Regions from separate parts of the Homo sapiens genome. Here all the other regions are linked to region 3. The links are contacts of gene promoters, found by promoter capture Hi-C in blood cells and fetal thymus (Javierre and others, 2016). All regions are on one chromosome and are shown on one strand. The core of a region is centred on a gene start or on the middle of the fragment in contact, and the rest is flanking DNA. Distances in the headings are between cores, read along the strand shown.

Region 1 (3,908 bases), core at 418-2,917, 370 kb after region 3:
TGAGAGTTTAAATTGCTTTTCCTCCTGGGGGAAGTCCAGCTCTCAGATGTAAAATGAGGGTGGCAGTGGGGGTGGGGAGGGTTGGAGGAATGTCATCTCTCAAGTTTTCTTTCAGTTCTAACATTCAAGATCACTGGCCAGGCTGGATGAAGTGGCTCACACCTGTAATCCAGCACTTTGGGAGGCCGAGGTGGGAGGATCCCTTGAGCTCAGGAGTTCAAGACTAGCCTAGGCAACATGGCAAGACCCCGTCTCTACAAAAAATAAAAAATAAATCACTCGCCAGAGGTGGTCCTTCTCTTCCACCTCACTCTAGGTGGTTCCAATGCTCAAAAATGGTAGTTGAATTTATCCTAATTATGTAATTCCAAGGAAAGCCCCTGAGATAGGCAGAGCTTGGAAGACTTAGGAGCCCTCTGATTCTCAGGTGGGTCCATCTGTTATTCTCACTGAGGATTACTTTTTAACCCCAAGATTATCGTTTAGACCCTAGGATAGCCCTAGAATAGACCCTAGAATAGATGTGTCCTGGTTCTAGGACACGTTTCCCATGCCAAAAGCAATGTCTGCCCAGCCCCTCCTCAGGTAGATGGTCTGGTGACCTGACCCTTGGCCACCCCTGTCCCAGCCCTTTTCAGTCTCTTCTTTTCGGCCCACAGAGCTTTTCTACAATCAGGTCAGGAGCCAGGCTTCTGTCTGCTACCTAGCCAGCTCCTGGCCCCCAGCTCACCCCAGCCCTTCCTGCCTGGCTGGGTGGCTGACCCCCGGTCCACGCCTCAGCCATTTCCCGTCTCGCCTGCCGCCATCCTCCTTTCCCCGCCCTCGCTGCCTCTACCAGCTTCACTCTCACTAGTCAGTCCCTCCTCCCCTCCCCATCCCAGACTATTCTAGTCGGGAGCCGTCCTAATTACTCTGTCCAGACTGCAAGGATTTTTCCCCCCCCTGGGGCTGGTGACAAGGGAAATCTCTAAGGCTAAACTCTCTGTAGGTGAAGCTGGACTCACCCACCTGGGCTGCCATAGGAAAACGGAGGAGCTGGCAGTGCCCCGGCGCAGGTAGGGAGAGGCCCTCCTTACCTCGGTCATCAGGCGGTCGGCTCCACTGTTCTCCTCATCCTTGAAGATGATGTCGGGGTTGTAGTTGGGCACGAGGTCCCGGAAGCGCTCGGAGCCCCTTGCCACCCTCCCCTCCGCTGGCCCACTGGCGCCCAGGGTCCGCTCTGGCACGCCGGGCACAAATTGCTTGTAGAGTAGCGGCACGAGCTGCTTGCGCGCATAGCGGCGCCGGCCAACCGGCCCCCGGCCCGGCCCGCAGCTCTGGGCTGGCAGCGCCAGAAGTGCCAAGCAGCACAGGGGCAGTAGATTGGTCAGGAGAGCCATGGATACAGCGGACCTCGGCCAAAAGGGAGCGTTCTTGTCCTCACTAACTCTCCTGTCAGTTAGGCATCTCCACAGGCACCAGAGAGGGCAGCAGGCACAGCTGCCCCCAGAGTGCCCTAGAGCTCTTGTGGCTCCGTGCACCTGGCTGCTGCTAGCTCTGCCCACGTGCCCCGGGAGCGGGCGGGGGGTGTCTAGGACCTGCTACTGACAAACCATCATAGCAGGGAAGGGGGGTCGTGGGTGAGTGCCAGCCCAGCCCGTCTCTGCTGCAGGACTCTGGTGCTGCCAGAACGCCCGGACTCCGGACTCCGCCTTAAGTGGCCCCTGGCCCCGCCCTCCGCCCTTCTCCCAAGACCGTCCCACCCCCTCCCACCCGGGCGGGGGATCTAGCCGGTCACTGCTGGTCCATTTTGCGACTGAAGTGTGTCCCATCCTGGAAACCAGGCAGACACCTGCCTAGGAAATACTTGTAGCTTTACAGTCCTTGGCTGCCTAAACATCCTTCTACCTCCAAGCTTAAACTTGGAACCAAACCACCCTCCTCTGATACTTGAATTGGAATTTTTACTCTCTCAAAGCCTACCCTGGCAGGCCATGCCCTCCGCTGTCATCCAGGAAGTATGGGTTCCAATTTCTGCCCAAGACCAGCCAAGCCCTTTGGGCATACAACCAGAGCCTCCCTTCTCTGTAGTCCTCCCCAGATCTCCCCGACTTCCATCTCTCCTCACATTCAGCATTAAGCAGGACTGGGAGGTGAGGATACCAGGGGCCCATTTCTCTACTAACTTTGCAGTCTCCTTTGGAACTTCCCCAGAACCAGGAACAGAGCTTGGTACTTATTGTCTCATTTAGGACTTCCAACTTTTTTCCCCTTCTCTTCTTTGCCAGGCATCTAATAGCTGCTGTTTTTCAAATGAATGACTTCTCAGTTGGAAGCTGCTGAAGGGCAGTGGACACTCAAAAGTCTTTGTAAGAGGTGAGGATCACTTCCCTTAACCGTCCATCTAGGCACCTCTCCAGCTTTCTCCCTCTCTGGACTCCCGGGGCTCCATTTTCAGCCACTCAGATCTCATCTCAGAGGCACCACGTCCAATTTCTTTTGTTTAGAAGTCATTTCTTCTAAGAAGCCTTCCTTGATGTCCCAACACTGCCCACCTGTGTTCCCTCGAGAACCATTACTTAACTGCAGTGTTAGAACAGTATTAGAATTATCTGGCACCTTACTAGACAAAGCAATCTTAAGCACACACATATTTATCATGTATCTCCAAGGTTAAGTGCCTACTCTACAGAAGGGTGCTTTGCAAGCATTTGTGGAATCTACACTTTGTGTTTCATATTCACCCTCCCCTCACCACACTCTATGGCTAGTACTCATAGCAACTTTGTGTACATCAGAAAAAACCAGGCCAGGCACAGTGGCTCACTCCTGTAATCCCAACACTTTGGGGGCGAGGCAAGGACTGCTTGAGGCCATGAGTTGAAGACCAACTTGGTCAACATAGTGACACCCCGTTTCAAAAAAAAAAAATTAATTAGTGGGAGGTAGTGGTACATGCCTGTAGTCTTAGGTACTCAGGAGGCTGAGGAAGGAGGATCACTTGGGTGCAAGAGTTCAAGGCTGTAGAGTGAGCTAAGATCATGCCACTGCACTCTAACCTGGGTGACAGAGTGAGGACCCCCCCCCCCAAAAAAAAGATGGCTGGGTGTTGTGGCTAACCCCTGTAATTCCATCATTTGGGGAGTCCAAGGTAGGTGGATCACTTGAGCTCAGGAGTTCAAGACCAGCCCAGGCAACATGGCAAAACCCCATCTCTACTAAAAATACAAAAATTAGCCAGGCATGGTAGCATGTGTCTGTTGTCCTAGCTATTCTGGAGCCTGAGCTGGAAGAATGGCTTGAGCCCAGAATGCGGAGGTTGCAGTGAGCTGAGATTGCACCACTGCACTCCAGCCAGGGTGATAGAGCCAGACCTTGTCTCACAAAAAAAAAAAAAAAAAAAAGAAGAAGAAAAAAGAAAAAAAAAGCACCCCTTCCTCAAGATGACTGACATTTATTAGAAAACTATCATAGTAACTATCCACACAATGACTATGAGGTGAATGGTGTCCCTGGAAGCTGTGCAATACACAATCTGTATAAGCCTAAGTTTTGCGCTCTTACTCCCAACATAGCACATGGGCTTTTCAAGAAACTGATGGCCTCTAGTAAAAAGCTAGATTCTTCTCTCAGGTAGGAAATGAAAATCCTTGTCAGCCAGCCACTTATTTTACTCTATATCCAATAGTTAAGCCAGGGAGGATAGGGCTGAAGGTATGAGTGTATCGGGGAGGTTAGCCTACTCCTATGCCCATGTCCTACCCCCAATACTCAAGGTACAGAAACAAGGCCATGAATATAAGGAGGAGTCAGGGGACAAGCCAGCTTTAAGCAAGACTGAGGATGGAGGAGTTTCCCACTGCCCAACTGCATGGCCTAACACCAGATCCAAGTCCCCAAAGGATGGTAATAATATAGATGAAGGGGAA
Region 2 (3,607 bases), core at 1,028-3,527, 380 kb before region 3:
GGCCAAAAGGTACCTCACTTGGGACAAGCCTCAATAAAAAGGCACTTGGTCTACCATCCAATGAAAACTGGTAGTAAATATGGTAGAAAAACTGATAACTTGGAAAGCAGGTGTTAAGACTCCAAAGTAATCCTAAGAGGTAAGAGAAATTGTTGGTCTGTGAGGAGCTGAAGTTTAATCAGGAAAAGTAAAAAGGAACAGAAAGAGTTTGAACCAGAGCTGGAAAAGGGGGGAAGAACTGCTGCTAACATGACCCAGAAGAACAAACCTGTTTATTTGTCAGGCACCAGTCAGATCTCATTAGAAAAATATATTCAGTTTGAAAGAAGCGTATGGTGAAGCCAGTGTGTGTTCATCAGAAAACATCAAAGTCAAGAAAGGGATTGGAAATACAGCCACTGGGAAAGTTAAAAATGTCGGATGTAGTTTTCTCTGTCTGGAGAAGAAGGCTGATGAATGATGCTACTAATGAATAAAAACAGAGGTCCCTTCTATCTCTATATAGGTCAAACAGAAAAAAATGGGTCTTGATTGCAAGAGAAGAGATTTAGGTTATTTTTTTTTAATTCTTAATAATCCTGCAGTGTACAATACCAGATAGTGGGCTCTTCTTTTTCTTTAGACAACTTAAGAGCAGGATGGGTCACACTTCTGTTGTGATAGGGCTTTATGGCAGAGAAATAATCTGAGACTCAGAATCTCTTTCTGTTTGGCAACATATTTTGGGTATTCTTATTCAATATCCAAACAGTCAGAGTCAGTGAAAGGCTTCCAAGAGCAGTCAGAAACTTGGTAACTATCCTGGCTTACTTACATCCTTTCAATAACACTTGCAAGAACCTTGAAGGCCAGGGTAGGTAATCACAGATGTCAAGTCGTCTATTTTCTTGCCTATTTGTCTTTGACAAAAGAGGTAGGTGGGAACCCTAAGCCCAATGCACAGGAAAAACAAATTCCCTTTTTATCTCAGAAGTCCAAAGATGGCTCAGGGCCTCATGGGAGCACCCTGGACTGATTCCCAGCCTAGGAGGTTTCCTTTTCAGAGACTTTTCATGAGAAAGGAAAATTCTTGCTAAAGCAATAAAGGGAAACTTCCATTTTAGCTCTCTTCTCTGAATTCCAGCTCTGTATCCACTTTTAACACACAGGGCACTAATTCTCCCTCTTCGTCCCATCTTTCTGGTTCTCTAGCTCCTGTGCAAATCCTCCCTGAAGGCTTTACCTCTAGCTACATATCTGGACACTTGTCTCAAACCCTTTCTCCATCTCCCCCAGGTAGCAGAGTCTCTTAATGGGAAGCCTCTTTGTGCAGAGCCCATTGGGCCAGCTGTAAGTTTTTCTATACCACTGACAGAAATCCGTGGAAGTGCTAGCAAAAATCTCAGCAAAGGATGGGATGGGTACCTGTCCTCAGCTTGCATTTCCTAAGATATTCACGCAGAGCCAGCACCTGGGCGGTTAAGGTGGTAGCCCTAACCTCGTTTCTCCTGGTTCCAGGATGATCCCATGCCCACTGCAGTGTGGGTTCTAGGGCTTTCATTTCCCCCTTTTCTTCACACATATGGGTAGCAAGGGACCTGCAAAAGGAAGTTTCTGCAGCCAGTGCTGATGAACAGAAAAGGGGCCATGTTATAAAAATGAGTAGCCCAAGGGCACACGGACGAGTTGGCTCCGTCCATCAGAGAACCCTGGCCCCTGCCACGGGTAGGGCATGGGCGGGACGGGAGCCTGCTCAGGGGTAAGGTTGCTTCTTCCCTTCTTCTTGTCACAGTGCCCCTGGAAAGGGTCAGATTTCAGAGAATCCGAGCAAGGCAGAACTGGAGCAGGGGAAGTGAGGTCAGAAAACAGGTTTCCCATGAGCTGGGGCATGAGCAAGTGAAGAGAAAGGGAGCCACGGGGTAACCTGTGCGCGAGTGACAGCGGCGGGAGCCCGCAGGGCCTGACAGTTGCGATGGGCACGGGGAGACAGGGCGAGAGGCGGGCACAGAATGTCAGCGGGGCAGACCCCCGGGAAAGGCAGCAACCCGGAAGACGCGCCGATCCTCCTCCCAGCCCCTATGGGTGACCGAGCCCCCACCAGCCGCCCCGGGAAGCCAGGCGTCCCTCCCTCCAGCCGCAGCTCCCTCCGGCCCGGCTCCACTCACCCCCGGTAGGCTTGGCCCGCGGCCCGGTGCCTCCCTCCCGGGCGCCGCCTGCCCCTCCCCTCCGCCCTCCGCTTGCGTCTGGGAGCCGGCGGCCGGCGGAGCCAGCGACAGGCGGAGACGGCGGCCCGGCAGGCGCGGGCGGGGCGGGGCGGGCACAGGAAATCCCCGCCCGCTTCCGGGGCTCTGCGGCGGCGGAGGTGCGGGGAGTGGGAGGGAGAGGAGTGGGAGGGAGAGGAGTGGGAGGGAGGGAGGGAGGGAGGGACGGGAGGGGGCGGGGCTGCGGCTCAGGCGCCCCCAAACGCGAACCCGGGACCTCCGCGCCCGCCGCTGTGGGGAGGGTGCGGCCCGAGACGCTTGGAGGGCGGCGGGCGCCGGAATCGCAGCCTGCTGTGGCCACTTGCCCGCACTCTTGCCTGACTGACCATTTTCCGCTCTGGCTACTGGGCCTCCCACGGAGTTCTGTCCTCAGGGTTCGTCAATTACCTGGAATTGCGTAACCGCCCGTTACAGGCCAGACCGAGGCCGAGAGCGATTTCTCCAGACAACAGTCTGGAATTCCTCAAGGAGCGTACCCTCTAGTTTTCACGATAGGATAAAGGGCTTGAGAGAGCACTGAGGAGGAGTCACTTATTCTGCCTGAGGGGAAGTCAGGTTGCTATCTGAAGTTGGCCTTGCGGCTGCTGTCCCATTTGCGGGAGCCGTAGCCGCAGGTGACACCTGAGCTCTCGAAATGTGGCTGGTCTGAATAGAGATGTGTTCCAAGATTTAGAAGATTTAATTTAAAAAGTGATATTTTGGGTATATTGGGTTAAATATATTAAAATTAATTTCACCTGGTTTTAACTTTTTAAATGTGGCTATAAATATGGCTTGCATTATATTTCTATTGGATAGTGCTACCTTGCAGCATTAAGATGGATTTGACTAGAAAAGATGAGAAGGGCCTACAAACAGTGAGTAAACCCATTGCTGTTAGAATCTGTTTATAACCTACAAGTCACATTCACATTCCTTATTTCATCATTACAACAATTTTCAAAAATTTTATTTAGTAGACTTAAAAAATAATTGACTCACTTAAGGTCATATGTGACAATCATTCGTTTAATGCATATTTATTTTCTACGTGTGCCAGACACTGTAACTAAATGCTGGGAGTTAAAGGATTCACAGTCTGGGGAAGCACATGTCAACAAATATTTGCAATAAAAACGTAGATTCTAAAACAGAGGAACGTACGCTGCACTTGAAGCAAAGAGAAGTGACCACGTATGGGACGGAGGTCAGAGAAGGCCCCCCACTCTGACAGAAATCGTGAGGCAGAGAAGAGTCAGGAGGGCTGTCTAATGAAAGAGGAAAATGCAGTAGACACGCAGTTGGGAAGAGTATAGAGCATATTCTAGGAGCAGATCATGGGATATGTCGGGGTAGTAGTAGAGCCAGAATTTTTATCCCGGGTCCTG
Region 3 (3,521 bases), core at 523-3,022:
TGAACCCAGGAGGCGGAGGTTGCAGTGAGCTGAAAACGTGCCCCTGCACTCCAGCCTGGGCGACAGAGTGAGACTCCATCTCAAAAAAGACAAATCAAGCATCAGAACCAGACTCACATATGGCAGAAATTTTGGAATTATCAGACTGAGATTTTAAAATAACTATTAACATGTTAAGGACACTAATGGAAAAAGAGGACAACATTCAAGAACAAAGGATGGAAAAAGAGGACAACATTCAAGAACAAAGGGCAACGTAAGCAGAGAGATGAAAACTCTAAAGAATCAAAAGGAAATGCTAGAAATAAAAAACACTGTAACAGAAATGCAGAATGCCTTTGGTGGGCTCATCAGTAGACTGGGCATGACAAAGGAAAAAAATCAGTGAGCTTGAAAATATGTCAATAGGAAACTTCCCAAACGGAAAAACAAAGAGAAAAACGAATGAAAAAAGAGTGGAATATCCAGATGCAATGGAAGTAAATAAACTCATGAGCATAGATAAGAGTAAAATAATCAGGAAGAGATGACTTGTTAGTATTTACTACTTTTATTTTATTTTATGACAAGATCTGGCTCTATTGCCAGTCTGGAGTGCAATGGCACAATCTCAGCTCACTGCAACCTCCACCACACAGGCTCAAGCCATCCTCCCACCTCAGCCTCCCAAGTAGCTGAGACTACAGTCACGTACCACACCCAACTAATTTCTGTGGGTTTTATTTTTTTGTAGAGACAGGGTTTCACCATGGTGCCCAGCCTGATTTCAAACTTGTGAGCTCAAGAGATCCATCTGTCTCGGCCTCCCAAAGTGGTGGGATTACAGGTGTGAGACACCACACCCGATGTACTACCTTTATTTTTAATATAACATTCAATTGTAAGTTTAGTTAATTTGATTTTTAATAATGCCTTGTTTAACAACCAATTCACAAAATCAATGAAAATTTAACAAGCTTTCAAAAGTCACTATGGATTGGCACACCACTGCTGAAACAAAGACTCATTGAAAGTATCCTATTCAGATTTCTTTTTTTTCCTGAATATAAGGCTGGATAACTATTAACATTTAAATACTGGTGGGGCGTGGTGGCTCACACCTGTAATCCCAGCACTTTGGGAGGCCGAGGAGGGCAGATCACTTGAGGTCAGCAGTTCAAGACCAGGCTGGTCAACCCTGTCTCTACCAAAAATACAAAAATTAGCCAGGTGTAGTGGCGCGCCCCTGTAATCCCAGCTACTCGGAAGGCTGAGGCATGAGGATCTCTTGAAACCTGGAGGCAGAGGTTGCAGTGAGCCGAGAAAGCGCCATTGCGCTCCAGCCTGGGCAACAGAGGGAGACTCTTAAAAAAAAAAAAAAAAAAAAAATTTAAGTTTCCATTATGTGTTGAACACCGTTCTAAGGAAATATGCATATATTATCTCATTTGATTCTCATAACTGTCAGATATTGTCATTGTCATTTTTTTAATTTAAAATTGAAAATGGAGGCTTAGTTAATCTATTCAAAGTCAGACACCTAGAATATGGCATAACTAAGATATGAGCCCAGGTCGGTGCTCTTTCTACTCACTGCCTTCTGAAGCTTACACTGGAAGACTAGGTCAAGAAAAGGTGTACTGACAATTGATTCCTCCATTTTCCTGAAGTTATTTAGCCCACTCCCACTCCAGCTCCACTGTGAACCTATAAATCCTGTGCCTCATTAGACAAAGGGAGTGTCAGTTGTGGTAATTCTTAGGACATTACCATGGTTACCAGGCACAGAGTCCAGTGCCCCAACCTGGACGTTCCAGAAGAGGCCAGGGAGGATCTGAGATGGCCTTCTTCAACTTGTATCTATTGGGATATCAAAATTCCTTTCAGAACAAGAAAAGGAACACAACTGAAGAAACAAGTAAGGGGAATATAGGGTAGAGGGTTAGAAGGGCCACTTCTTTACCTAGATGCTTCATAGCCACTTCCTAGCTATTTATTTTCCTACCTGGGGTTAGAGATTTATCCTCCAAGGCCAACAGTTACACTAGTTAAAATTGTGGAATAGGGACAATATCCTTTCAGCTTTGCTCTCCTGTCATTTAATATCCTTATTAAGACACACAATTTGGGCCAGGTGCAGTAGCTCACATGCAATTCCAGCAGTTTGGGAGGCTAAGGCAGGAGGATTGCTTGAGTCCAGGAGTTCAAGACCAGCCTGGGCAACATAGTAAGACCACATCTCTATGAAAAGTTACACAAATTAGCTGGGTGTGGTGGTGCATGCCTGTGGTCCTAGCTACTTGGGAGGCTGAAGTGGGAGAATCACTTGAGCCCAGGAGGTCAAGGATGAAGTGAGCCATGATCACACCACCGTACTCCAGCCTGGGCGACAGAGCGAAACCATCTCAAAAAAAAAAAAAGACACACAATTTGTTCAACCAAATAAGTGTATTCTTAGTCATTCGTTGGCTCATTTAACCAACATTTGTTAAGCACCAGGCTTTATGTGCCTGGCATTATGTTGGTGACTAGGGTTAAGACCTCTGCTATAAAGTGACTATCTGATGAGAAAGATAAGTGTGCAAACAAAAATTGCAATATATTGTATGATTACATTAAATATGGAATGTTCTAGAGCCACTAAGAAGGAAGTACCTGATACTATTGGATTTGGAATAAGAACGGGGGAGTGGAGGATGGGGGAATCCTTCAGAGAAGACTTCACACAGGAAATGCTTCCAGAACTGGGTGTTAAAGGATGATTGGCGTTCACTAAAAAGGGGATGGCCGGGTGCGGTGGCTCACGCCTGTAATCCCAACACTTTGGGAGGCCGAGGCGGGCGGATCACGAGGTCAGGAGATCAAGACCATCCTGGCTAACACGGTGAAACCCCGTCTCTACTAAAAATACAAACAATTAGCCGAGCGTGATGGCGGGCGCCTGTAGTCCCAGCTACTTGGGAGGCTGAGGCAGGAGAATGGTGTGAACCCGGGAGGCGGAGCTTGCAGTGAGCTGAAATCGAGCCACTGCACTCCAGCCTGGGCGACAGAGCGAGACTCTGTCTCAAAAAAAAAAAAAAAAAAAAAAAAGAAGGGGATATAGCACAGACAAAGGAACAGAGACCTAAGAGAGAACCATATTAAGTGAATTCCAAGTTCGTGGGTACACATAAAGGGTAAAGTGGAGAGGTGCTGGGAGGCAGACGTTGAAAACTAGGAAGGGGCCAGATAATTGAGGATGCTGTTAGCCATGCTAAGCATTTTAACTTTATAGACAGCCATTGAATTTTTAGTAGGCAGTGAGCAGATCTACATTAGATTCAAAATGCCTAGCCATGCCTCACACATAATAGAGGTTGCATAAATATTTGTAGGGTGAATGGATGAATAACTAAGTTTGAATAACTGTAAAACAGGAAGCTAGGGGAGGCTTTACAGGAGATATGACAATTGATTTACATCTTAAAAGATGAATTGTTGCCGGGCACTGCGGCTCACGCCTGTAATCCCAGCACTTTGAGAGACTGAGGCGGGCAGATCAT

What was found. The method cuts DNA at HindIII sites, captures the fragments that hold promoters and counts their contacts. A CHiCAGO score of 5 or more calls a contact.
Region 1: a contact is called between the fragment with the promoter of DHH here and the fragment with the promoter of SPMIP11 in region 3, in 1 of 17 cell types (non-activated CD4 T cells). The highest score is 5.1, in non-activated CD4 T cells.
Region 2: a contact is called between the fragment with the promoter of ZNF641 here and the fragment with the promoter of SPMIP11 in region 3, in 1 of 17 cell types (non-activated CD4 T cells). The highest score is 5.0, in non-activated CD4 T cells.

Annotation. Positions count from the first base shown.
Region 1 is chr12:49,093,134-49,097,041 of GRCh38, forward strand. DHH (desert hedgehog signaling molecule) reads right to left here and starts at 1,668. Exons shown (of 3, transcript NM_021044.4): 1 at 1,077-1,668. The coding sequence starts at 1,379. DHH-AS1 (DHH antisense RNA 1) reads left to right here. Exons shown (of 4, transcript XR_007063295.1): 3 at 989-1,055; 4 at 2,268-2,611. The HindIII fragment of the contact is 10,631 bases long and covers 1-1,892 here.
Region 2 is chr12:48,348,642-48,352,248 of GRCh38, forward strand. It overlaps ZNF641 (zinc finger protein 641), which reads right to left and starts at 2,278. Exons shown (of 6, transcript NM_001172681.2): 1 at 2,145-2,278. RefSeq lists enhancers at 1,789-1,858, 2,297-3,033 and silencers at 1,999-2,428, 2,709-2,788. The HindIII fragment of the contact is 6,093 bases long and covers 1-3,607 here.
Region 3 is chr12:48,725,663-48,729,183 of GRCh38, forward strand. SPMIP11 (sperm microtubule inner protein 11) reads left to right here and starts at 1,773. Exons shown (of 4, transcript NM_001351123.2): 1 at 1,773-1,897. The coding sequence starts at 1,819. The HindIII fragment of the contact is 5,202 bases long and covers 1,584-3,521 here.